2 separate regions of the Homo sapiens genome follow, and region 1 is linked to region 2. Evidence: promoter capture Hi-C in 16 types of primary human blood cells and fetal thymus (Javierre and others, 2016). All regions are on one chromosome and are shown on one strand. The core of a region is centred on a gene start or on the middle of the fragment in contact, and the rest is flanking DNA. Distances in the headings are between cores, read along the strand shown. Region 1 overlaps PEAK1 (pseudopodium enriched atypical kinase 1). Region 2 holds the start of PEAK1 (pseudopodium enriched atypical kinase 1).

The links. The method cuts DNA at HindIII sites, captures the fragments that hold promoters and counts their contacts. A CHiCAGO score of 5 or more calls a contact.
Region 1: a contact is called between a fragment that was not itself captured here and the fragment with the promoter of PEAK1 in region 2, in 1 of 17 cell types (naive B cells). The highest score is 5.1, in naive B cells.

Annotation. Positions count from the first base shown.
Region 1 is chr15:77,208,756-77,214,073 of GRCh38, reverse strand. The region is part of intron 6 of PEAK1 (pseudopodium enriched atypical kinase 1); the gene reads left to right. Among named protein-coding and RNA genes, the nearest start is that of LINC00597, 14 kb to the left of the region's middle. The HindIII fragment of the contact is 1,009 bases long and covers 2,810-3,818 here.
Region 2 is chr15:77,416,869-77,421,491 of GRCh38, reverse strand. PEAK1 (pseudopodium enriched atypical kinase 1) reads left to right here and starts at 1,388. Exons shown (of 10, transcript NM_001385026.1): 1 at 1,388-1,486. HMG20A (high mobility group 20A) reads right to left here and starts at 604. Exons shown (of 10, transcript NM_001304504.2): 1 at 488-604. RefSeq lists enhancers at 103-152, 543-592 and silencers at 1,043-1,362, 1,613-1,782, 1,793-2,002. The HindIII fragment of the contact is 8,449 bases long and covers 1-4,623 here.

The DNA.
Region 1 (5,318 bases), core at 2,065-4,564, 210 kb after region 2:
AACAACATGGTAAGTGAGGCAAGTCAAACATGACTACTATGTAGTATATAATTCTATTTATATGAAATTCTAGAAAAGGAATAGCAATAGTGACTGACAGCAGATTAAAGTGGTTATTGAGGCCAGGAGTTAGGGAGAAGGGATCAAGTGCAAAGGGACACAAGGACACTTTTTGAGTGAGGGAATTGTTCTATATCTTCATTGTTATGTTGGTTATACAATTGTATACAAATAATAAAAATTATCAAACTGTACACTTAAAATTGGTGAATTTTATTGTATGTAAATAATGTCTTAATAAACAAGAAGGAAAATAAATAAATCCTGTTCATCATGTAAGCCCAGGTTTGTGCCACCTATTTTTTGTTTTTGTTTTTGTTTTTTTGAGACAGAGTCTCACTCTGTCACCCAGGCTGGAGTGCAGTGATGCGATCTCGGCTCACTGCACCCTCTGCCACCTAGGTTCAAGCGAGTCTCCTGCCTCAGCTGCCCAAGTAGATGGAATTACAGGCAACTGCTACCACACTTGGCTAATTTTTGTAGTTTTAGTAGAGATGGGGTTTCACCATCTTGGCCAGGCTGGTCTTGAACTCGTGTCTTCGTGATCACCCACCTCGGCCTCCTAAAGTGCTGGGATTACAGTCATGAGCCACCGCGTCCGGCTGCCATCTGTTTTCAAAACCTTTATTTTTTCTACTGGAAGCCATGTAGAAATGATCTCTGAACTCCCAGAACTCTTTATCTGTAAATCTTAGGGTCCTAATTATCATTTTCTGTGTTTTGTCATTTTATGTATAAATTTCTACTCCCCTACTAGGCTAATTTCTTTGTGTATAGGGACCATTTTTTATTTTACCTTGATTCTCCCAAAGCCTAATTTTTGCATGTCTTTTTCTATTTCCTTTTCTCAAAAGCATTGCATAGAACATTATTCCAGTTAATGAAGGGTTCCAGTTAATTGGATTTCAGTCTTTTCTGACTGCAAACATACTGCTTTCAGAATACATTCATCTTAGGGAATTATGATCTTTCAGAATTTTCTTTATTCAAAAGATTTTTTTTTCAGATTTCAAGCTTATGTGTTCCTTTAAAAAGATGTTTATTGCTAATAAATGAAAAATTCACTTTTGCTAACACTGAACTTTAGGAGGTATTACATTGATCTTTATATAAGAGACATCAGGTATAAGAATTCAGATATCTCAAGCTGGGGTTTTGTAAAAGAGCTAGAAATGCTCTCTGATGAGATGTTTCTCATATCACTCTATAAAAAGCCAGGCTCATAACATTAAATCTGAATTAATTTATGACTTTTTCATAGGACTTTTGAGATAATATTGCCCTGGTTTGTTGTTTATAGATGACCTACATACAAGTATAGAGTTTAGTGAAGGGAGCAGATAAATAAAATGTCCTTTGGCCTATGTTGAATAGGAACAAGCAAACTTTAGAAAGAAAATTGATTGAATAAAACTTTATCAAATTCTGTTATGAGTCTCCGGTATGTCTGTATTTTGTCTTGTTGAGTCCAGAGGAGATCCATGTGCTTTAGATGACACAATTGTATAAATAGCAGAGTTGATATTTATTTTAAAATTTAGGAGACTGACTTACCTTTTTTCCGAAAGTTAGGGCTATTCCACTTCCCCAAGTAAGCAAGGCTAATTTTTTATTTTCTCAAAAGGAGCTTTAAATCCAAATAACTTGAACAAGTAGTTAACTGGACCAACAGTTCTATACCAAATATACCAAAGAGGTCATTGAATCTGAGATATTATGAATTAGGAAAAGTACTAAAAAGAGAACCTTGGCCACTAAAAAACCTGGGCTGAATTCCCAGCTTAGGCACCCTAATGGCTTTAATAGCTTAACCTTGGAGGGAATGTTCACTTTCCCTGAGTCTGTTTCTTCATCTATAAAATGGAAATGAAAAATCTTTCTTTATAAGTTTATTTTGAAAATTCAATGATTATATATTTTAGTTTCTAGAACATCTTCATATCCAATAGTTATTAGTTCTTTCCCATACTTGATCATAAAGAAAACATAATGTATGAGTCTTATAAAAGGATAAGATGAGGAACTCAGTAAATAATAATGAATAAATGTTTTATGAAAACACCAGAGAAGGAAACAGTATTTTGCATTTTTAATCATGATAAATTTTGAATATAAATTATGATCAAACATCTTTACAGTCACTTTTTTTTTTTTTTTTTTTTTTTGAGATGGAGTTTCGCTCTTTTCTCCCAGGCTGGAGTGCAGTGGCGTGATCTCGGCTCACTGCAACCTGTGCCTCCCGGGTTCAAATAATTCTCCTGCCTCAGCCTCCTGAGTAGCTGAGATTACAGGTGCCTGCCACCATGCCTGGCTAATGTTTGTATTTTTAGTAGAGACGGGGTTTCACCACATTGGCCAGCTGGTCTCAAACTCCTGACCTCAGATGATCGACCCACCTCGGCCTCCCAAAGTGCTGGGATTACAGGCGTGAACTGCCGTGCCTGGCCTACAGTCACTTTTATTGAATAATAATTATAGCAGTCATAAGTCATTATTTTATTTTGCTCAGCATTTGTATGCTGAGTGATTTTGCTGTTAATAAATCAACATTATTTAGCCAGAATTGAACTCACCTCCATGGTATCTTAGTGGAGCCGTAGAACCTGTACTACCCAGAATTTCATCCATGTTTAATATTATATGGTACATCAAGCCACAGTATTCCTTTATTTGTGTAAACTTAATAGTTTGCTGAAAGTTCATTTTAAAAATCTATTGTTTTGAAACACCTTATAAGATAAAATAAGCTTACATGCCTTGCGAAGTAATATGCTGTAACACTAGGGACAGTATACTTCTTGTATATGGGCCAATTTTAAGTACTTTAGGTTTTACAGGGCATAGTCTCTGTTGCAACTACTCAGTTTGCCTTTGTAGCACAAAAGCAGGTATAGGCAGTATGTGAATGGATGTGTTTGCCTGTTTTAATAAAACTTTCTTTACAAAAAGAGATGGCAGACCAGATTTTACCCATGGGACATAGTTTGCTGATCTCTACTGTAATAAAATAGCACAGATCTAGAAGTAGAAAACCCTGGAGATAATCATTCCTGACATAAACTAGCTGAATATTGCTAAAAACCCAAATCATTAAACTTCCTTGTGAATTTTGTTTTTGTTTTTTGAGACAGAGACTTGCTCTGTCGCCCTGAGCACACAAGGCCAGAATGCATTGGTGCAGCCTCGGTTCACTGCATCCTCCACCTCCCAGGTTCAAGCCATTCTCCTGCCTCAGCCTCCTGAGTAGCTGGGATTACAGGTACCTGTCACCATACCTGGCTGATTTTTGTATTTTTACTAGAGATGGGGTTTCACCATGTTGGCCAGTCTGATCTCAAACTCCTGACCTCAGGTGATCTGCCCACCTCTGCCTCCCAAAGTGTTGGGATTACAGGCGTGAGCCACTGCGCCCAGCCTGAATTTATTTTCTTAATCAATGATTTCTCTTCCTATTCCTTCAGATTCCTATTTAAATTTTATCTTTGGTCATCAAAAGTTTTCTGGTTTAAAAGACACTTTTTCCTGAAGGATATGGAGGTAATCTAAGGACAAAATCAGTGTAGAGTCTTGACTTTTTACTGGATTTAAAATGGACTTTTTACTGGATTTAAAATGCTGGGTTTCAAATGAATTACATATATATTGCTTCTTCCCTTTGGGAACTTTGAGATCTAAAAGAACTTCAACTTTATGATCTGCAAGAACAAACTAATGACTTGTCCATCAATATATTACCAATAACTTTAGTGATAGAAGCTTTAATATACATCTCTGGTATATATGGAAACTATAAGTTGAATGTAGGTTGTGTAAAAATAATTGCATTATATTGCCTTAGTGTAACATAAGAAGTAAATATAAGGATAGTTACCATTTTTAATCACTTATGCTATAGCACTTAGTTATCCTATTTGATCTCTGTAACAACTGGTAGTTGCTATTGTTAATTCTTATTTGATAGATGAGGAAACTAAAGTTCAAAGACATAAGTAACTGGCCCAGGGATACATAGAAAGGGAAAGTGTCAGAGCTGAGACCAAACTCAGTGTGTTAGTTTCTTATTACTGCTGTAACAAATTGTCATAAACGTAATTGTTTAAAACAATACATTTATTATCTTGGAATTCAGGAGGCCGGAAATATGAAATAAGTTTCACTGGGCTAGAATCAAGGTTTTGGCAGGTCTGCATTCCTTCAGAAGGCTCTAAGGGAGAATCCATATAAGGTAACAATTTCACAAGTTCTGGGGATTTGGACATCTTTGTGGGGTCATTATTCTGCCTACCACACCCAGTGAAGAAAAAATTTTAAAAATATTCCATTGTATCCTCTCAGCATCTCACAGAAAGGAAGACCAGTTATTATCATCCCATTGTGCAGGTAAAGGATCCTGAGGCAGAAGGAATTTGTGACTTTGCCAGAGTTTTCTAACTAGTTAGCCCAAAGGGATCTTTTAAGTCCAGAAAGTTCTCTGCTGTATCATACTTCCATAACATTTTTATCAGCATTACACATCTGATGCTAATATAGGTATATTGCTTTCATGTCTCTAGATAATCAAATTTGAATTCAACCCAAATTAGACTTGATTCAGTGCCCTTGCCATCTGTTAGCTTGTTTGATAGTTTCTGGTATAAAAGACATCTTTTCCTGAAGGATAAAGAAATAAGCCCAGGATAAAATGGATGCAGTGTCTTGACTTCATTCGGGTTACTTTGAAAATCTCCGTTTGCTAGTGTTTAGACTCAATAGCTGAAGGTACATATATGGAAATCTTGGACTTTCTATATCCTCTCTTATATGTCACAAACAATTTTTTTCTTTTATATTAAAAAAGAGACATAAAAGGGTTATCTTAGACTAGACTTTTTTAGATCTGGTTTCAATTTTCTTTGTATAGAACTTTTTTCAACACTCATTTCCTGGCTTTCCATTATGCCAGTAAGTAGTTGAATCTATACTGTCAGTTTACTTGCTAGTCTGTAGACAAATCTTCCCTAACTTCCAAAAATAGTTAAGAACAGACTGGAGATAGTCCTTCAAAAATTAGTACAATGGAAAGAAACCCTTTAGATAACATCTATGTTTTATTGCTGCTATACAAAGCAGTAATGGAGGTGGTAAAGACAAATATTATTATTTAATAATTGGTCATGACTTCCTATTTTTCTTAGGCCATTCTTTCAGTTTTTCACCAGTGAGTTAGTTCTCTATAGTTAAGTATTTCTGTCTTACCAAAACCAGGTATTTTCACACAT
Region 2 (4,623 bases), core at 139-2,638:
ATGTCGTCTTGCAAAGGTGCATAGAGATTTTTAACAAGGGCTTTCGAATTCTTTGAAGAAAACACAGACAATTTTGCTGGGGAGGAAATGCTCCATATTCCACGTGGAAGCAAACTCATAAATTCTGACTGCAGGTTGGTGTTCAGCACAACTTGGAATAATCTAACTTTTCACATAAAACACAATCCCCAAGCTGCAAGATAATGTCTCCGCGAATGGCACCAAGCACCACCTTTTCAAGCCCTCATCAGCACTGGAAGTGGGTCGGACACCCCCAAACCATCACCACCCCCCCACAGGAAGTGAGGGTGTCCCCCCTCCCCAGGACGGCCTTCCTCCCCTCCCCCAACCGGAAGTTGAGGCGCCCCCATTCAGCCGGCCTCCAACTGAGACAAACCAGTACCACCACCACCAAAAGAGGGGTGATCTTCAAGGGGTGAAGGGCATCTCGACTGGGGCCACCCCCAAGCTCGCCTTGCTTACTGACCTGCTGACGACAGGGGCAGGAAGGGGCCTAGGGCCAAAAGAAAGTCCCTTCCACAGAGGACAATTCCCTCAGCCCCTCTCAATCGCCTTCACTTCACGCACTCGTCGTCTCACAGCTGGACAAAAATTCTTCCGCAGCACTTTATTTTGGTGTCCTTTCCTTTTCTTTACCTAATCTCTTAACCACCTTTCCACAGGTAACTCCTCTTACCGCATAGCATTTACAATTGCTCCGGTGAGAAGAAAAATGAAATATTTTCCACGGTACCTTCACAAAAATGAAGGGATTATTTTGCCCCAATGCGGCGAAGGACTACGTGGTTACGCAAGGTGAGCCTTATTTTCGTGGAGGTTTCTGGGAGATGTAGTTTTTTTTTTTTTATTGCGAAGGCCCGCAGAAAGTAGAAGAACTGAAATTGGTCATGACTACATATTAGCGTCCTCGAAAACATATTCTGTATTCGATGACGGCTGACCTAGCGGGCCCCGACGCCCAAATGGGCCCAGACTCCCCTGGTCTTTTCCTCTGCGGCTTAATCGAACCCAAATTTTCCCTCACGCGGGCCCAAGGTCTCGGCAGCCCCGCCCCTTGTCTTAGCCCCGCCCTCCGCAGCCAATCAGGCACCCTTTAGGTCTCGTCCTCTGGAGGTTGGAAGGCAGAGAGGAGGGGCCTGGCGGTGACTCCTCCCGCTGGGGCTGAGGGAGACCTGGGAGACGACCGGGGCCCGTGAGCGCGCGCGTGCTCACGGCTCCAGGAGCGCGGCGAGCGGGCGAGGGCGCGCGCGGAGGGGCGGCGCGCGGGGCCGAGAGGAGGCGGGCAGGCTGGTGGGCTGGGCGGGCGGCGAGCGGCCGGGAGCGCGCGGTGGACTCGGCCGCGGCGAGTAGTTAGTTAGTTGTTGTTAGTCAGTGTCAGTTGCTCGGCGGCGGCGGCCGTGGTCACCAGGAAGGGGACGGGACGGACGGTGATGGTGGTCGCCGCGGCGGCGTGTGCGCCCCTCAGGTAACAGCGGCCCGGCTGTCCGCGTCCGCTCGGTTGTCTTCTACTCACGCGCCGTCTGTGGGACCAGGGTTGCCGCGGGTTGAGGGCGCTGACCCGGGGGAATCCGGGCGGGGCGGCGCGGGTTCTGGGTGGCGGCGCGGGTTCTGGGTGGCGCCGCCGCCGGGGCTCTGGCGGCCGGTGCGTCCCGCCCGGCGCGGGCTCTAGCTCCCCGGCCACCCCCGCGCCCCGCCGGTGCCGCGCGCCCCCTGCCGCCCCTGCCCCCTCCCTCGGCGGCGGCCCCGGGAGCGCGACGCCCCCCAGAGGAAGGAAAGTTGGGACCTGCCGCGAGGGACGCCCCCGGGCGCGGCTGGGAGGTTGCGGGGGAAAGTGAAGCCTGGAGGAGCTGGACGCGGGGAGGCCGGGGCAGGAGGGGCTTCTCTGGCTCCTGCCGGGTCCACACGGTCAGCCCGCTCCCGCACCCGGGAGCATCGGCGCAGCCTCGCCGGCAGCGTCGGGACGGAGCCGGGTGGCTCCCTGCCTGCTCCCTTCGCGCCGCGGCTGGGGAGCCCGCGAACGTGTGGGCTGGCGGGGTCGTTTGGGGGTTGTGAGTGGTTCGGCTGCTCAGTTTTTTTCTTTTCTGCCCTTTGACCCATCCGTTCTTGCAACTTTTCTTTCCTCCTTCGATGGGGACTTGCCGTCTGAACCGCGTCTGCCCCCTCCCCTCTCGTCGCATGCACCATCCGTCTGGGAGCTTGATTTCGTTTTTTCCTCCTTTGGCTACGTTAAAGATTGCTGAGAGCACCGGGAGAGACCCTCCTCCCCCGCCTGCCTCTGGCCTGTTAAATGTTACTTTTTGCGATTCGTTGTTTTTTAAAGATCCAAGTTCAGGAATTTGAGAGCTGTGGAATGGAGTTATTGGAAGGCTGACGTTGAGGGGGTAGTGATGAGTTAGAGGAAAACTATGATTTCATCTTTATTGGCCTTGCTATAGAAAACCTAATTGATTTTTTTTCTGCCTCTGTTGAATGTGGTAAGATCATACGTTGAATTAAATACTTAGAGACTTACATAAAAGACTATTTTTAGGTCATTGGATGATGTACGTGAACAGCTTTTCACCTGAATTGGGATTGCCTTGAGGATTCTGTTTTGGGGCCTACTTACTGATTTTTGTTCAGCCACAGCGTCTTTTTTTTTCCCCCGATAAATGAAGTGATGTAGTGATGTGTATAGTCAGAGAACCCATATTGCTCTCTGCAGTGTGGAAGTGAAAAACGTGAATTATCCACCGGGGTAAAACTTTCCATGAGCAATCTTGGATACTCACTTCATGATGGCTTCTCTCGTAATCTCAGAGCATTTCTAGATAGCTCAATTCACTGACGACCCTAATTACTTTCTGACTTGCCTGGGACTTCTCTTTGGTGACTTATTTAGTAAACTGTAATGGCAGATATGGTACATTTTCTTGGCTTCAAAGTTGAGGGTTATAGCCTCAGCCCAGAGATGAACAATGGAAGTAGAAGTCATAGCATTGCTAGTGAATTTTGGATATGACCAACTCACAAACTATGTGAAAAAACAAACATCCCCTTTTCATTGCTGTCGGGGGGGAAAGGGAAATATTTTATCATGTCTTTATTTTGGATTCTCTAACATGACTACATTATGTGGGAAAAAATGTCAAATTATTTTCTTTAAGGCTTTTTAATGTATGTTCCTTCTTTTCCCTCACTACCCCCCATCTCCTGTCCCAACTTAGAGGCTAAAATTTATGTGTGGCTGTGTTCTAGGGTTGGAAGAGAAGTGTTTTGGTGAAAGAAAAAGATAAGATCACTTTGAACTATTATGATACCTCAACTATTCGTTTTATCCAGTTGATAGTATACAGAAACTTTCACAATAATGTTTGTAGCCTATTAACATTCAAAATTCATTTTTAAGAGTCTACCCTGAAGGCCCATGAAGAAATAATGCCACTTCATAACTGTTTGCCGACAATCACATTAAAAAATATGTTCCTGGAATGCATTATACGTGTACTCATATAAACATTTATCTTTGTACATTTATGGTAATGTAAATATTTAAGTCTGAGAGCTTAAAAACTTTTATTTGCTTATTTGCATACATGTTTTTCAACATCTAGCAGTGCCAACCATATTTGCCAAATAAGCATCAGCTATAAATTCATGCTTTGGCACATTTCATATAATAACTCTTCTAAATTGTTCCGTGGTGAAGCATCATGAGATTAGCATTTGCTTCATGAGAGAGATTTGTTGTTCTTTTTAACTGTACTGATGTGCTGTTTAAGTGGAACGGGTGCTGGGCCCTAGCCATTTGTGTTGATACCTGCCAAATCATACCCTTTTGTTGGATGGGTTGTTTAAGTAATTTAGTAACCAAACTGTGGCCCCTGGCATGCCAAGTGTGAGTACAAGGCTCCATATCAGTGTTGCAAATCCCTGTTTTCAGTGTAAGAGGCAGATGTGTGTGATGAGCGTTATTCTGTCATTTGCTGATCTCTTTACTGTGATTCCTACCTCTTGCCCCCCTCCCCCCCCGCCCCGCATCCCCCCACCCCACTCTCCTTCCTAGTCCTTTCATTACTAAAGCTCCTGGTACTTTCTAGGTTCCCTCAAGGCTGGTTTGTTTTCCTTAGTGAAGTAGAAATCCTAGTAACCTTCAGGCCAGGAATAGATAGTTTACATTTGTTTGACAAATGTTTGAGTACCTTTTAAGTGCCAGGCATGGTGGTAGGTAGGACCTGAGTATTATAGAATATGAGATTCCTTTTTGCAAGGAGTTTACAGTTGAGGAGGAGAAGATAGGTGATAACCAATAATTATAGTATGACAGGGGCATGCACACATTCCTATGGATGGAAGCACAGAGGAGGGGTAGCTGACTCAGACTTCGGGGGATGGGTGGAGGGTGTCTAGAATGCATCTTAGAGTGTTACCTGAGCTAATCTTCAATAATAGGTAAGAGTTAACTAGGTCCAGAAAGAGGGAAAGTACATCTTATACCAGTGCTGTCCTATAAAATTTAATACAAGCCACAAATATGTTACATATACAATTTAAAATTTTCTAGTAACCAAATTTTAAAAAGTAAAAAGTGAAATTAATTTTAATAATATAAACTCAGTATAT